Linked DNA regions of Homo sapiens: regions 2, 3 and 4 are each linked to region 1. Evidence: promoter capture Hi-C in 16 types of primary human blood cells and fetal thymus (Javierre and others, 2016). All regions are on one chromosome and are shown on one strand. The core of a region is centred on a gene start or on the middle of the fragment in contact, and the rest is flanking DNA. Distances in the headings are between cores, read along the strand shown.

Region 1 (3,344 bases), core at 586-3,085:
AGTTTTTTTTGTTTGTTTGTTTGTTTTTTGTGAGACGTAGTCTTTGCTCTGTCACCCAGGCTAGAGTGCAGTGGTGCGATCTCGGCTCACTGCAAGCTCCGCCTCCCGGGTTCACGCAATTCTCCTGCCTCAGCCCCTCGAGTAGCTGGGACTACAGGCGCCCGCCACCACGCCCGGCTAATTTTTTGTATTTTTAGTAGAGACGGGGTGTCACTCTGTTAGCCAGGATGGTCTAGATCTCCTTGACCTTGTGATCCGCCCACCTCGGCCTCCCAAAGTGCTGGGATTACAGGCGTGAGCCACCGCGCCTGGCCTGTTACTTAGTATTTGATGTTTTATAATGTTCCATGCATGCTTGAAAACCAATAAATCATCTTGTCCCGACGCTCCACTTCTTTAAAGTTCAGGCCTGGCCCATGTCAACATTTGCTTTTGTTATTCTGGCACAGTGATTAAGACACTCGGTTTTTAATAATCAGACAAATCTCAGCTGCTAGCTTTACCACTTGCCATTGGGTGGTTGGAGGCAAACAATGTCGCTAATCCTCAGGTTCCTCAACTGTAAACTGAGAAAATAACAGTACCTACCTCATGGGGGGCACATAAGGAAGGATTCAATGAGATAATCCATTTTATAAAGCGCCTAGCAGAGTCCCAGGCAGCCTTCAATCGTTAGTAGTGTTACCATCATGAGGCAGGTGTAATTATACCCATTTTACAAGAAACTAAGGCTCAGAGAGGTTTAGGTAAGTTGCCCAAAGTTTCCTAGCCAGTGGCAAAGCACAAGCTCCCACCCAGAACTTTTCTTCACAAATTCAGCGTTTCCGATACTCAAACTGATCCAGACACACTAACATTTAGGGGATTTACTGTATGCCATTCCGAGACGAGGCTGCATTTTAAGACGCCCAGGGAAGAAACGGATTGCGAAACCCAAAAGAATTCATTCTTTGTGCTGCAAGTTTTGTCTGAAAGGAAAGGGGCAAGAAGGGCATGGAGCGTGCTAGAGGTAACAAACCACCCAACAGAATTCTGGAACCAGGGGGCCGAAGCTTCTAAGCTGGACACATTCCTCTGTGGGTTCGATCCTCTAAGGAAGTGGAGTCACCCAGCGGCGCACCACGGCCCGAAGACCCTGCTGCTGCGTGGCCAGCGGCCCACGGCCGTGCGGCCCTTCGAGGCTCTGCAGCTCCTCGCGCCTAATGAGCCTGGCGCTTAAAAATACCACCCTAGTTAAACCTCCCGGAACCTGTCTTCAGCATTTCAAAAAAAAAAAAAAAAAAAACGGGCGCCGTCATCACTTTGAGCCACATAAATCACAGCCCTGACCTGCTGTGGATTCAGCAGGCGACGAGCCGCTGAAAGTGGCGACGAAGTCCGCCCCTTTCGAAGACCAGCAACTTTCCATTCTTTTTTCCCTGCGCAAGGCGCAGATTGCAACGGGGAGACCCCCGAGCAGCCTGAGGAGTGAGTCGGACGTTGGAAAAACTGCCCGGGAATCTCATCTTTCCCAGCCCAGGCTAAGCGCAGGATTCTTCAAAGCTATATCCTGTGACAATCACAAGGGTTTTCTCCGCCCCACGGGTGACGGAGAACTCGTGACCGGCCCCTGAGCTCCAAGCCGAGCGCCTAGAGGGCGCGGAGAAAGAGGGGGCGGAGCTACAAGCCCAGATCACCAGGCAGCCGAAGACGGGCAGCGCGTGCGCAGTCTCTCGCCACGGGACCTCCTTCCCGCCGCTGAGACTAGGAAGCGGGACGCCAAATCTGTCCCTGCGCAGCCGCCGCCGCCGGGCGCCGAGCGGGGTGGCCGCCCTGCCTGAGGCGCGCCTGCGCACGTCCCCACGCACGCTCCGGCGTACGGCGGCGGCCAGGGGTCGCGAGCCGGTGGAGGACCCGCGCGCGGAGGAGCCGGGGAGTCAGCGCTTCTTCCCTCCCTCCCCCTCTCCCCTCCCCGCTCCCTGCCCCCCTCCCCAAGAATGTTCCGCTACGAGGTGAGCTGTTGCGACCGGAAGTGACCCCTCCCTCCCTCCCGCGCCCCTCTCCCTCACTCTCTCTCCGCGCGCCGGTCCTGTGTTCCTGCGGGGCAGGGGGCGGGCTGGGGGAGTCGCAGGACTTAGCTGGACGCGACTGGTCTGGGGTCGCGGGTCTAATCCTAGGGCTGGGAGCTGGCTTCATGGGTCGAGACAGTCCCATTAGTTGCCGCTGGGGAAAGTTGGCCTCCGTTTTGGGGTGGGGAGGGCCCGTTAAGTGCTGTAACCAGACCACACCCCCGCCCCCACCCCTAGAGGAGCCACGGAGGGTAGAGCACTGCATCTCCCCGGGTGCTTTTCTTAAGTAGGTGTCACCCGGGAATTCCCAGAGCCGCGTTTCCCGCCCTGGACCCGGAACCACCCCCCACCCACCTCCACTCGAATTACACTGACACACATCCCATTCACACAGGCTACCTTCAGGTGAAGGGGGCCTGGGCTTGCCGTTGGATTAGGGCCCCAGCCCGTTTACTAAAGAGGGCTCCGAGTTGGGAGGGGGGCGTGTCCTGCAGAAGTTCCTTCTGGGCTAGTGCTGGGAGACGCGGGTTTGGAGAAGGTGCCGGGAATGTAGCAATAGCAGCAGACAGTACTGACCCTGTCACCAACTCACTGTGTGACCTTGAGTGACTCCTAATCTCTGGACGTAAACTTTCTGAATTTGTAGCATGAAAGAACTGATGTAAATGATCCTTAAGAATTTTTAATTTAAAAAAGCAGCGATTTGGTAAAGTAGATATTTGTGATTTGGAAGGGAGTACTGCTGGAAGTTGCCTCTGATAAGGAGGCAGTGGCATGCCTATTGGCATGAGTTTGGAAGGGCTCTGGGGTAAGAAGAACGCCCTTTGACCTAATCTTTCCATTGTAAACAGGGTAGCTAAGAGGTAGCCAGGCAAGGTGTATCACAAACGTACCTACTGATAGAATATGGAATTCTGATTCTGAATTTTTGAAAATTGAGGACAGGTATACTTGATAGGAATGATCTAAGACCAAACCAAAAGGAAAACTTGGAGAATAAATCAGTTGAGTAAGATTGAAGTAAAGGGGGAAAATAGAACACACCTAGGATGTGGTGGCCTCTAGCCTTTGTTCGATAATCTGTAATCTTTGCCCACTTTGATCATCACAACTCTCTGCCATAGTTGGTATTGTCCCTGCATTACAATGTAAGACATTGAGCCTTACAGCCTAGCACAGAACCTTAGACGCAATAGGTCCTTAAAAGGTATTTGATGAATTAATTAGAAATTTTCTGAGTTGCCCATGTTCACACTGATTGTAGGAATGGAGCCAGAACTTGAACTTGTCATACCA
Region 2 (3,344 bases), core at 380-2,879, 500 kb after region 1:
GGTTGGCCACAGACAAGAGCAGGCCTTTCAATAGAGATTTTAAATGGGTGGGATCAGGATCATGAAACATTTCTTTGAAGAATTGTAACAGGAGATGAAACATTACCAGTATAATCCTGATGACAAGGAACAACCAAAGCAATGGCTATCAAGAGGTAGAAGTGGTCCAGTCAAAGCAAAAGTGCACTGGTCAAAAGCAGAGACCATGGCAACAATTTTTTGGAGATGCTCAAGGCATTTTACTTACTGACTTTCTGGAGGGCCAGAGAACAATAACATCTGCCTAATATGAGAGTATTTTGCAAAAATTAGCAACAGCTTTAGGATAAAATACCTGGGAAAGCTTCACCAGAGTCGTTCTCCACCATGGCAATGTTCATGCTCATTCCTCTCATCAAACAAACGCACTTTTGTGAGCAATTTGATGGAAAATCTTTTAATCTGCTGTACAGTCCTGATTTGGCTCCTCTGACTTCTTTTTGTTTCCTAATCTTAAAAAATTTTTTAAAGAGCATCTGTTTTTCTATAGTAAAGTAAAACTGCATTGATATGGTTAGGGTCCCAGGACACTCAGTTCTTTAGTGATGGACTAAATGATTCATATCATCACCTACAAAATATCTTGAACTTGATGGTGCTTATGTTGAGAAATAAAGTGTACATTTTTTATTTTGTTTTTTAATTTTATTTTTCACAAACTTTTGGAAGTCCCCTCGTGTTTGTGTGTGTATGACTTGACATTAATAGTAAATTATAGATGTAAAATATTTGTATTTTAATAATCCATGATAATTTATAGTTTATCATGACCCAATTAGAAATAATAATTTATAATTATGTATAAATAATTATTATATATGTATATACATTTCTTAGATCTTCTAACACAATCCTAATTTCAAATAATCTGTACCATAAACCCTGAAAATCTCAGAAATTCCATTTTATTTATTTATTTATTTTTTGAGACAAAATCTTGCTCTTGTCCCCTAGGCTGGAGTGCAATGGCATGATCTCGGCTCACTGCAACCTCCTCCTCCCAGGTTCAAGCGATTCTCCTGCCTCAGCCTCCCCAGTAGCTAGGATTACAGGTGCCTGTGACCAGGCCCGGCTAATTTTTGTAGTTTTAGTAGAGATGGGGTTTCACCATGTTGGCCAGGCTGGTCTCGAACTCCGGACTCAGGTGATCCGCCCGCCTTGGCCTCCCAAAGTGCTGGGATTACAGGCATGAGCCACCGTGCCTGGCCGACATTCCATTTTAGTATCCAAACTATATCTCCCAAATTGTCTCCTGTACTCATAAGTGGCATAAAAATCTTTAACCAAATGATATGCCAAATTTTTAATTTGAACATATGATGGCTATAATAAAACCTCACTAATTGAGACTATGAAGCCAGTTTTGAACTGTTCAAAGGTACAATTTGATGATACTTCAAAAAAGGTCGTCATTGTCTAACACAAAGATTCAGTGAAAAAGCCGCTTCTCTTCTTTTTCTGTGGAATGTTCATAGACAAAGCCCTTTTTTTTTTCAATTACCTATTATTATGTAATAAAGCACCCTAAAACTGGTGGCTAAAAACAGCAGCAAGCGTTTATTTTTCAAACACATCTGCACTTTGGGGAGGGCTTCCAAGGACAGCTGGTCTTTGCTACACACAGCATTAGCTCAAGGGAGCTCTCAGGAAAGCAGGTGGCTGGAATCATCTGTAGGTTTGCTCATTCATAAGTCTACTGCTTGATACTGGCTGTTATCTGGGCACTCAACTAGGGCTATCAGCCCAAGTACCTACACATGGCCTGTCCATGTGATTGATGGGCATTCTCACAACACAGAAGTTAGTTTCCAAATAAACGAGAGGCAAGAGAAAAAGCCAGGCAGAAGATGCATTGCATTTTAATTTTTTATTTTAAAATAATTTAAATTCACATGCAGTTATAAGAAACAGACAGAGCCTGTGTATCCTCAACATCCCATAAAACTATAGGAAAACTATAGTGCAATACCATTGCTGATATTGACACAGTTAAGATACAGAATGGTTACAATTCTGCTCCATTATTGATATAATACCATTGTGTCACACATTATACAATACACATTTTGTATACAATATACATTTTCCACACCACAAGGATTTCTCATGTTGCCCTAAAAGGTCACACCCACTAATTCCTCCCCACTACCATCCTGTCCATAACTCCTGGCAATAACTAATATGTTCTCCATATTTATGATTTTGTCATTTCAAGAATATTATGCAAATGGATCATAGAGCATTCAATCTTTTAAGATAGGCTTTTTCCACTCAGCTTAATTCTCTAAAGATTCATCCAAGTTGTGTGTATCAAGAGAAGTTTGTTTCTTTTTATTGCTAAGTAGTGTTCCATAGTATCCATGGACCACCTTACTGTTCATCCATGGAAGTTCATATAAGTTGTTTCTAGTTTGGGCTATTATGAATAAAGCTACTATGAACACTCTCATCCAGGTTTTTGTGTGAAGGTAAAGTATCCATTTCTCTGTGATAAATGCCTAGGAGTACAATGGCAAGGTCATAGGGTAGTTGCATGTTTAGCTTTTTTAACAAACTGCCAGTTTTCTAAAGTGGCTGCACCATTTTGAATTTTCACCAGCAATATACCCATGATCTGGTCACTACATCTTCACCATCATTTTTTGGTCAGTATATTTTATTTTAGCCATTTTGGTAAGTGTGTAGAGTTATTTCATTGTTTTTAACTTGTTTCCTTATTGACTAATAATGTTGAACATCTTTCCATGCGTTTATTTGCCATATATGCTCTTTGATATCTGTTCAGGTCTTTTGCTGGTTTCTGTTTTCTATTATTGAAATTAGAGAGTTCTTTTTATATTCTAAATATTGGGCTGGGCACAGTGGCTCAAGCTTGTAATCCTAGCACTTTGGGAAGCCCAGTCAGGAGTTCGATTGCCTGAGCTCAAGAGCTGGAGATCAGCATGGGCAACATGGGGAAACCCTGTCTCTACAAAAAATACAAAAATTAGCTGGCCGCGGTGGTGCAGGCTTGTGGTTTCACCTACTTGTGAGGCTGAGGTGGGAGGATCGCTTGAGTCTGGGAGGTTGAGGCTGCAGTGAGCTGTGATGGTGATGTTGCACTCCAGCCTGGGCAACAGAGTGAATCCTAGTCTCAAATAAATAAATAAATAAATACTCTTGGTGGATATATAGTTTGAAAATATTTTTTCTCAATCTGTAGCTTATGTTTTCCATGCTCTTCATAGCGTCTTTCACAAAACAAAAGTTTTTTAATTTGATAAAATACAACTTACCAAATTTTTTTTTTCTAAATGGCTTCTGTT
Region 3 (3,344 bases), core at 581-3,080, 480 kb after region 1:
CTACAAAGGGCAAAATATCTTTGTCTGTTTTGTTCAGAGCCAGGCACTAGTAGGCATTCAATTGATATTTGTTGAAGGATGAAAAAACAAAGAAGCAAGTTCAAACCAGGGTGTACAAAAGAGTCACCTAAGATGTTTTTAGAAGGACAAGGTCCCAGATCCAGACCAGAATATCCACCTGTGGAGCACGAGAAGCTGCATTTCCCAAAGCTCCTGAGAAGCTGCAGATGTAGCAATCCCCAGCCTAACATTTGGAACCACTGCTAGAACAGCTGTCACTTCTCCTTTTCCCTGAGACATATATAAATATTAGGCAAAGCCTCCTCCCCTTTCTGTCCTTCTCCCCAGCAACTCCAGCCAGGCTGGAGAGGAGATGGCACAGCTGCCTGGGAAAGGCGCGGCCCTCCCACAGCGCTGACTTGGAAAATATGGGACACATGGGTCTGGGTCTTGCGCCATCCTCTCTGTCACCCACACTCCTGCAGCTGGGCTTGGAGAGGCTAATGGACCCGGTCACAGATGACTCCAGGAGGCAGACAGCCTGCAAAGCCAACAGCTCTGCTGTGGGGGCAGGATGGTGCTGGGAAAGCAAGAGGAGGAAAAAAAGAATATTTATGTATTGATTTATCCATCCAAAAAGTGTTTATTGAGCCCTACTTTGTGTTGTTTGCTATTCCCGATGCTGGGGGTCAGCAGTGAACACATGGCTCATGGCCCTTCTTCACTCACATGTTACAGTTACCAACATGCACAGAGCTCACCTCCCCCCAACAGTGGCTCCAACTGCTCACAGCATATAAACCTGTCTGATCCTTCCAACATCCTATGCAAGAGGTGCAGTCATTAACACCATTTTAGAGACAACTACATTGAGGCACAGAGAGGTTAAGGAAACTTGGTAAGATCACACAGCTAAGCCAGAAAATCTGGCACCAGAGCCCATTTACTATGCCAGGCTCTTGTGTTTACGTAATCCTTATAACATCCCACACTGCAAACATAGACCAGAAACTCAGAGAGCGTAATGAATAAACCCACCACTAGGAATGGGGAAAGCTGCAACGGGACCTCCATGCCAAGCAGTGGGGTCTGTCTCTGCCCCTCATGCCTGTAAGGAAGGTTCTTCCCCAGCTCTAACCTACTTTGAGCCTGCCTGGGGCTCTGTCCCTTCCCAGGGATGATGACATGTGCACCAATGCTGGGAGATGGATGTGAAAGAACAGATGTGGGAATGGGAATGTTTGTGTCTCACCAGGCCACCCAAAGCCGCTTTTCTTCTGAAACTGTCCCCAGGATAAATCAAACCAGGATGGGAGGATGGAGGAGAAAGCTGAATACAAAACAAGGGCCACTGGGCCAAGAAAAGAAGAATGGACTTGTTTCTGGACTCTGTGACCTGCTCCCCAGGGCCAGGCATGGTATGGTGGATGGGCAGTCAGGAAAATCAGGTGCAAGTCCCATCCCTGCCAGGAGTTTCTCGCTAAGGTAGTTAACTTTTCTGAGCCTCAATTTCCCCATCTGTAAAACTGTGAGGGTCTTGGGTTAGAAGACGCTACGGAAACTGGCTGACAACTTCCCACCAATATCTGAGAAAAAAATGGCCACCCAAGCCCTGAGTCCTCCACTTATGGCCGATTCTCCTCGCCCAGCTCTTTCTGGAGAGGTTTGGGGAAAAGACCCGGCTTCCTGTGTCCTGCTCCCAGCTCCCCAGCAGGGGGCAGCACTCAGAACCCAGACCTGCACCTACCTTCTCCCTCGCCATCTTCAGAGCCCCCACTCCAGCTGATAAGTAGCTGTGATCTGGGTGACAAAAGCCACCTTTGTTCCCATAAACTGGACTGGCAGGTTTCCACACCCAATCTGGCCAACCAGGAAATAATCCAATCCCCAGAACACCACACATTTCAGGCAGCTCAAGAACTCAGGGGCAAGATGTGGAGAGAGGGAGGGAAGGGCCCGCATGTGGACCTGGGACACACAAGAAGACTATGGGTTCAACAGGTGGGAGAGATACATGTCCCTGCCACTTGAGGAGAGGAATGACATGGCGGGTAGGCTTGTCACTGGGCTCTGGGAAGGAGGGGTCTGGGGAGAAGGGGTATATTTGCTTGTGAAATCCAGAACCGTGTAATGGAAGGAGCTCTGCACTGGAGTCAGGGAGTCTTTGTTTTAGCCCCGCTCAGCACTGACCTGCTTTGCCTTTGGGAGAGCCGCACAGCCTCTCTGCGTTCTGTTGACCATATCTAAGTTACCACAGCCGTGAACAGGGCATCCTAAATGTCTGCCCCATGGGGTCCCTGTGAGGATTTAGGAACTAGGTCAACTAACTGTAAACAGCTGAGCCCTGTGCAAGTTTGGGTGACTGTTTATGCTTTTACCTCCCAAGTATAAAAGGGGCATTGGGCTGAATAAAGACGTTTTCTGCTCTAATATTCCAATTTTCTGATTCTCGAGGTCATGGGTATCCAGCATAAAGTTGAGTGCTGGGCAGTACTTGAGACGGTTGATCTCACCTCCCCCACTATTACTGGTTAAACCTTGGAGAACAGCCCATGAAGTCCCAGCTGGTCACACCCTTTTGGGGCCTCAGCTTCAAAAGCCTGAGCTCTCCTAGAAAACTGCAACCCAATGGCAGGCATGCATCTCACATCCTTCAGGCAACTCCATCAGCCAAAACTGTCTGTCCTAACCACTGCTTGGCCAATCATAAGACACCCCCTGCCCCCATTCAGTTGGCCTGTTCCCTGATATGGAGGGTCTTTTGTTTCTGTCGCTAAAACATAAAACTAAGACAAGAGAAGAGAGCTGGCAAGGTGGCAGAGAAAGGAGTTTTGAGGGAGGGAGTATATCTCTGCAGTCACCATGATGAGAAGCAGTGTTTTTCTCGGAGTTATGCACCAGTCCAGGAATCCTCCAGCAGGACAAGGATCTTGTCTCTACGGCAACTGAGGCCTAGCTGGAGACAGAGAATCCTCAGCTCTAGAGGAGGGGGCTAGAGGGGTGACGCTTGCCTCCACTGCACAGCCCCCTTCTTGCTTCCCTTTAGAAAACCCCTGCTTCTGTCTCTGAATAATTCACAGGATCTTTTGTTCCTGCCCCCAAACCTTTCTCTTCATCCCACTCCTCCCGCCCTCCCTGGTCTTCCTTTTTCCGTGGGAAAGTTGCTGGAAGAGGTCATGGGCAGAGAGAGGAGGGGGAAAGGGGCCCTGCAATGACAGAAGGTCGATGGCAATGCCAGACAAAGGGAATAAACACGCTAATTAAATGGCCAAGAAAGGCTGGAGGAGAAGATGGGATTGGGGGTGAGGGAGGTGGTAAGAGGTGAAAAGCAAAGGGCTGGAAGA
Region 4 (3,344 bases), core at 346-2,845, 460 kb after region 1:
AAACGGGTCCAGGTTGGAAATGGAGCAGGTCAAAACTCCTATGCTGATTAGTAGTGGGACCATGCCTGTGAATAGCTACTGCACTCAAGCCTGGGCAATAAGCAAGACCCTGTCTTGGAAAAAAAAATATACCCGGAATGCAGTATTTCTAGATTTATAGAACACCATCATGGTTTTGATAATAACTGGTGAAGCCCAGCCTGGGAAGCAAGATAACTAGCCTCATTCTTTCTAAAAACACTTCTTTGCTGCATTAATAACCAACAGAGGAATTCAACTCCTTGGAACCTTCCTTCCAGGATGCATACAGGTGATGGTGTAGTGATACCTGTGAATTGCAACATGACTTTTTCAGTCTCAGTACTGTATCTAGTTCATGGTATAATCTTGGGAATGTTAAGGATGCAACTGGGAGCTTCACTAAGTCCTCTGGATTCCCTGGCTACCACTAAGCATACTAAGACATAGCCTAATTGTCCCAAAGAATTAACAGAGTTGGGTTTCAATCAAACCTGTCACCATTGTTTTAAATTATGGGCTCTAATAGAGCTGGCATTGGAACTTGAAAAGAAACTCATGTAATTATATTCTTCTAATGATATAGCAAATGAATTTTTGCTTTTAGAAAAAATATTGGGTAGTGAAGAGCCACATTCTTTTTTATCCACCTAAACTGATTACACACACTTAGCAATGGAACAAAAAATTAAAGGTATAACAGGTACCAACTTCATACAAAATGCACACACACAGAGGATATATAAATGTGTGTACACATACACATATGTTCCTTGGCCCCTGTCTGCTGTTGATAAATCAAAATCTAGATAATAGTGTGGTTTTGTCTTGAACATTTCTATCTGAATGAAAACAACACAGTGTAGGAGTTCCTTGCCCTCGCTTTGAATGCTTAGGACAATGCAAATTGGGGTTTCCCAGCATATTGCAACCGAATCCTCTTCAGGCCCTGTCAGCTGTGCTCCAGACAATGCCATCCCCAAAGACAGAATTGCTATGGTTCATAACAGTGAAACCCACAGGACAAGTGTCCAAGAGTTTCACTCCTTTCTTTTGTGGAAACAGCCTCCACCCTCAGGCAAAGAGGAAACCCAGGGTTGGCCTTGACTAACAGCTTGCATAGGTATGGTGGAGCCAGGGTGTTTCAGTAAGGGTGGTGTGGTCATTTGCCTCTGCATTTATAGTAAAAGAAAACTGATAATGGAGTCCCAAGAGACAGCAGTCAGGGAAAATATGAAACATCAAGTCCAAGAGAATGAGCAAAAAGCAAAGCCAAACTTTCTGGTGGAGGAAGCAGTAGGGTGTGGGGTCGGGATTTTTTTCTAAGTGCACACCCCTGCAGCAGAGTAACCAGCCAGAGCTGGGGGAAAAATTAGGATAGCTACCTGTTAGGCATGTAGGGGTGTGTTTGCATGTTTAGTACGGCATAAATTCTTCAAAGACCTGATGGTCTTTAATATTCCAACCAACTCTCGTTTCCCCATTTTGTCATTAAATTAGCTTAAAGAGGAACTTGTAGCTTTTAGAGAACTCATGAGTTTTCCGCTTCATCATCTGCTTCTGTTTTCTCCATCTTAGTTTGCCCAAAGCTTGCTGGCCGCTGTGTAGGGCTGGTGAGTGGCTGGGGCTGTCTGAGCCATGAACAACTTCAGGGCCACCATCCTCTTCTGGGCAGCGGCAGCATGGGCTAAATCAGGCAAGCCTTCGGGAGAGATGGACGAAGTTGGAGTTCAAAAATGCAAGAATGCCTTGAAACTACCTGTCCTGGAAGTCCTACCTGGAGGGGGCTGGGACAATCTGCGGAATGTGGACATGGGACGAGTTATGGAATTGACTTACTCCAACTGCAGGACAACAGAGGATGGACAGTATATCATCCCTGATGAAATCTTCACCATTCCCCAGAAACAGAGCAACCTGGAGATGAACTCAGAAATCCTGGAATCCTGGGCAAATTACCAGAGTAGCACCTCCTACTCCATCAACACAGAACTCTCTCTTTTTTCCAAAGTCAATGGCAAGTTTTCCACTGAGTTCCAGAGGATGAAGACCCTCCAAGTGAAGGACCAAGCTATAACTACCCGAGTTCAGGTAAGAAACCTCGTCTACACAGTCAAAATCAACCCAACTTTAGAGCTAAGCTCAGGTTTTAGGAAGGAACTCCTTGACATCTCTGACCGTCTAGAGAACAACCAGACGAGGATGGCCACCTACCTGGCAGAACTCCTGGTGCTCAACTATGGCACCCACGTCACCACCAGTGTCGACGCTGGGGCTGCTCTTATTCAGGAGGACCACCTCAGGGCCTCCTTCCTCCAAGACAGCCAGAGCAGTCGTAGTGCCGTGACCGCCTCTGCTGGACTTGCCTTTCAAAACACCGTGAACTTCAAATTTGAGGAAAACTATACCTCGCAGAATGTCCTCACCAAGAGCTACCTCTCAAACCGAACCAACTCCAGGGTGCAGAGCATTGGAGGGGTTCCTTTTTACCCAGGCATCACCCTCCAGGCCTGGCAGCAGGGTATCACCAACCACCTGGTGGCCATCGACCGCTCTGGCCTGCCGCTGCATTTCTTCATCAACCCCAACATGCTACCTGACTTGCCAGGCCCCCTGGTGAAGAAGGTGTCAAAGACAGTGGAAACTGCTGTGAAGCGCTATTATACATTCAACACCTACCCTGGCTGCACAGATCTCAATTCTCCCAACTTCAATTTTCAGGCCAACACGGATGATGGCTCCTGCGAGGGGAAAATGACCAACTTCTCTTTCGGTGGGGTTTATCAGGAATGCACTCAGCTCTCAGGGAATAGGGATGTCCTCCTCTGCCAAAAGTTGGAGCAGAAGAATCCACTCACTGGTGATTTCTCCTGCCCCTCTGGCTACTCCCCGGTGCACCTGTTATCCCAGATCCACGAGGAGGGTTACAACCACCTGGAGTGTCATCGAAAGTGCACTCTCCTCGTCTTCTGCAAGACCGTGTGTGAAGATGTGTTCCAGGTGGCAAAAGCTGAATTTAGGGCTTTTTGGTGTGTGGCCAGCAGCCAAGTACCTGAAAACTCAGGACTGCTTTTTGGGGGCCTCTTCAGCAGCAAGAGCATAAACCCCATGACAAATGCACAGTCATGCCCAGCCGGCTACTTTCCACTGAGACTCTTTGAAAACCTCAAGGTATGTGTTTCTCAGGACTATGAGTTGGGAAGCAGGTTTGCGGTCCCCTTTGGCGGGTTCTTTAGCTGCACAGTTGGGAACCCCCTGGTAGATCCTGCTATATCCAGAGATTTAGGGGCACCGTCTCTGAAAAAGTGCCCCGGGGGCTTCAGCCA

The links. Contacts are between HindIII fragments. The CHiCAGO score rates a contact against its expected background, and 5 or more counts as called.
Region 2: a contact is called between a fragment that was not itself captured here and the fragment with the promoter of PATL1 in region 1, in 3 of 17 cell types (total CD8 T cells, activated CD4 T cells and fetal thymus). The highest score is 5.6, in total CD8 T cells.
Region 3: a contact is called between a fragment that was not itself captured here and the fragment with the promoter of PATL1 in region 1, in 3 of 17 cell types (M2 macrophages, M0 macrophages and non-activated CD4 T cells). The highest score is 7.0, in M2 macrophages.
Region 4: the fragment with the promoter of MPEG1 here is called in contact with the fragment with the promoter of PATL1 in region 1 in 1 of 17 cell types (M1 macrophages); the score reaches 5.2 in M1 macrophages.

Annotation. Positions count from the first base shown.
Region 1 is chr11:59,667,528-59,670,871 of GRCh38, reverse strand. PATL1 (PAT1 homolog 1, processing body mRNA decay factor) reads left to right here and starts at 1,835. Exons shown (of 19, transcript NM_152716.3): 1 at 1,835-1,991. The coding sequence starts at 1,977. It overlaps PATL1-DT (PATL1 divergent transcript), which reads right to left and starts at 1,562. Exons shown (of 4, transcript NR_187296.1): 1 at 1,330-1,562. RefSeq lists enhancers at 1,286-1,575, 1,502-1,796 and a silencer at 1,756-2,105. The HindIII fragment of the contact is 2,400 bases long and covers 1,055-3,344 here.
Region 2 is chr11:59,166,358-59,169,701 of GRCh38, reverse strand. No RefSeq gene overlaps it. Among named protein-coding and RNA genes, the nearest start is that of DTX4, 4.1 kb to the left of the region's middle. The HindIII fragment of the contact is 2,567 bases long and covers 346-2,912 here.
Region 3 is chr11:59,184,831-59,188,174 of GRCh38, reverse strand. All of the region lies in intron 2 of DTX4 (deltex E3 ubiquitin ligase 4), which reads right to left. It overlaps LOC124902675 (a long non-coding RNA gene), which reads left to right. Exons shown (of 4, transcript XR_007062682.1): 2 at 1,294-1,485. Among named protein-coding and RNA genes, the nearest start is that of DTX4, 14 kb to the right of the region's middle. RefSeq lists a silencer at 1,651-1,740. The HindIII fragment of the contact is 7,574 bases long and covers 1-3,344 here.
Region 4 is chr11:59,211,178-59,214,521 of GRCh38, reverse strand. MPEG1 (macrophage expressed 1) reads left to right here and starts at 1,595. Exons shown (of 1, transcript NM_001039396.2): 1 at 1,595-3,344. The coding sequence starts at 1,657. It also overlaps the pseudogene RN7SL42P. RefSeq lists an enhancer at 1,419-1,618. The HindIII fragment of the contact is 5,135 bases long and covers 1-1,609 here.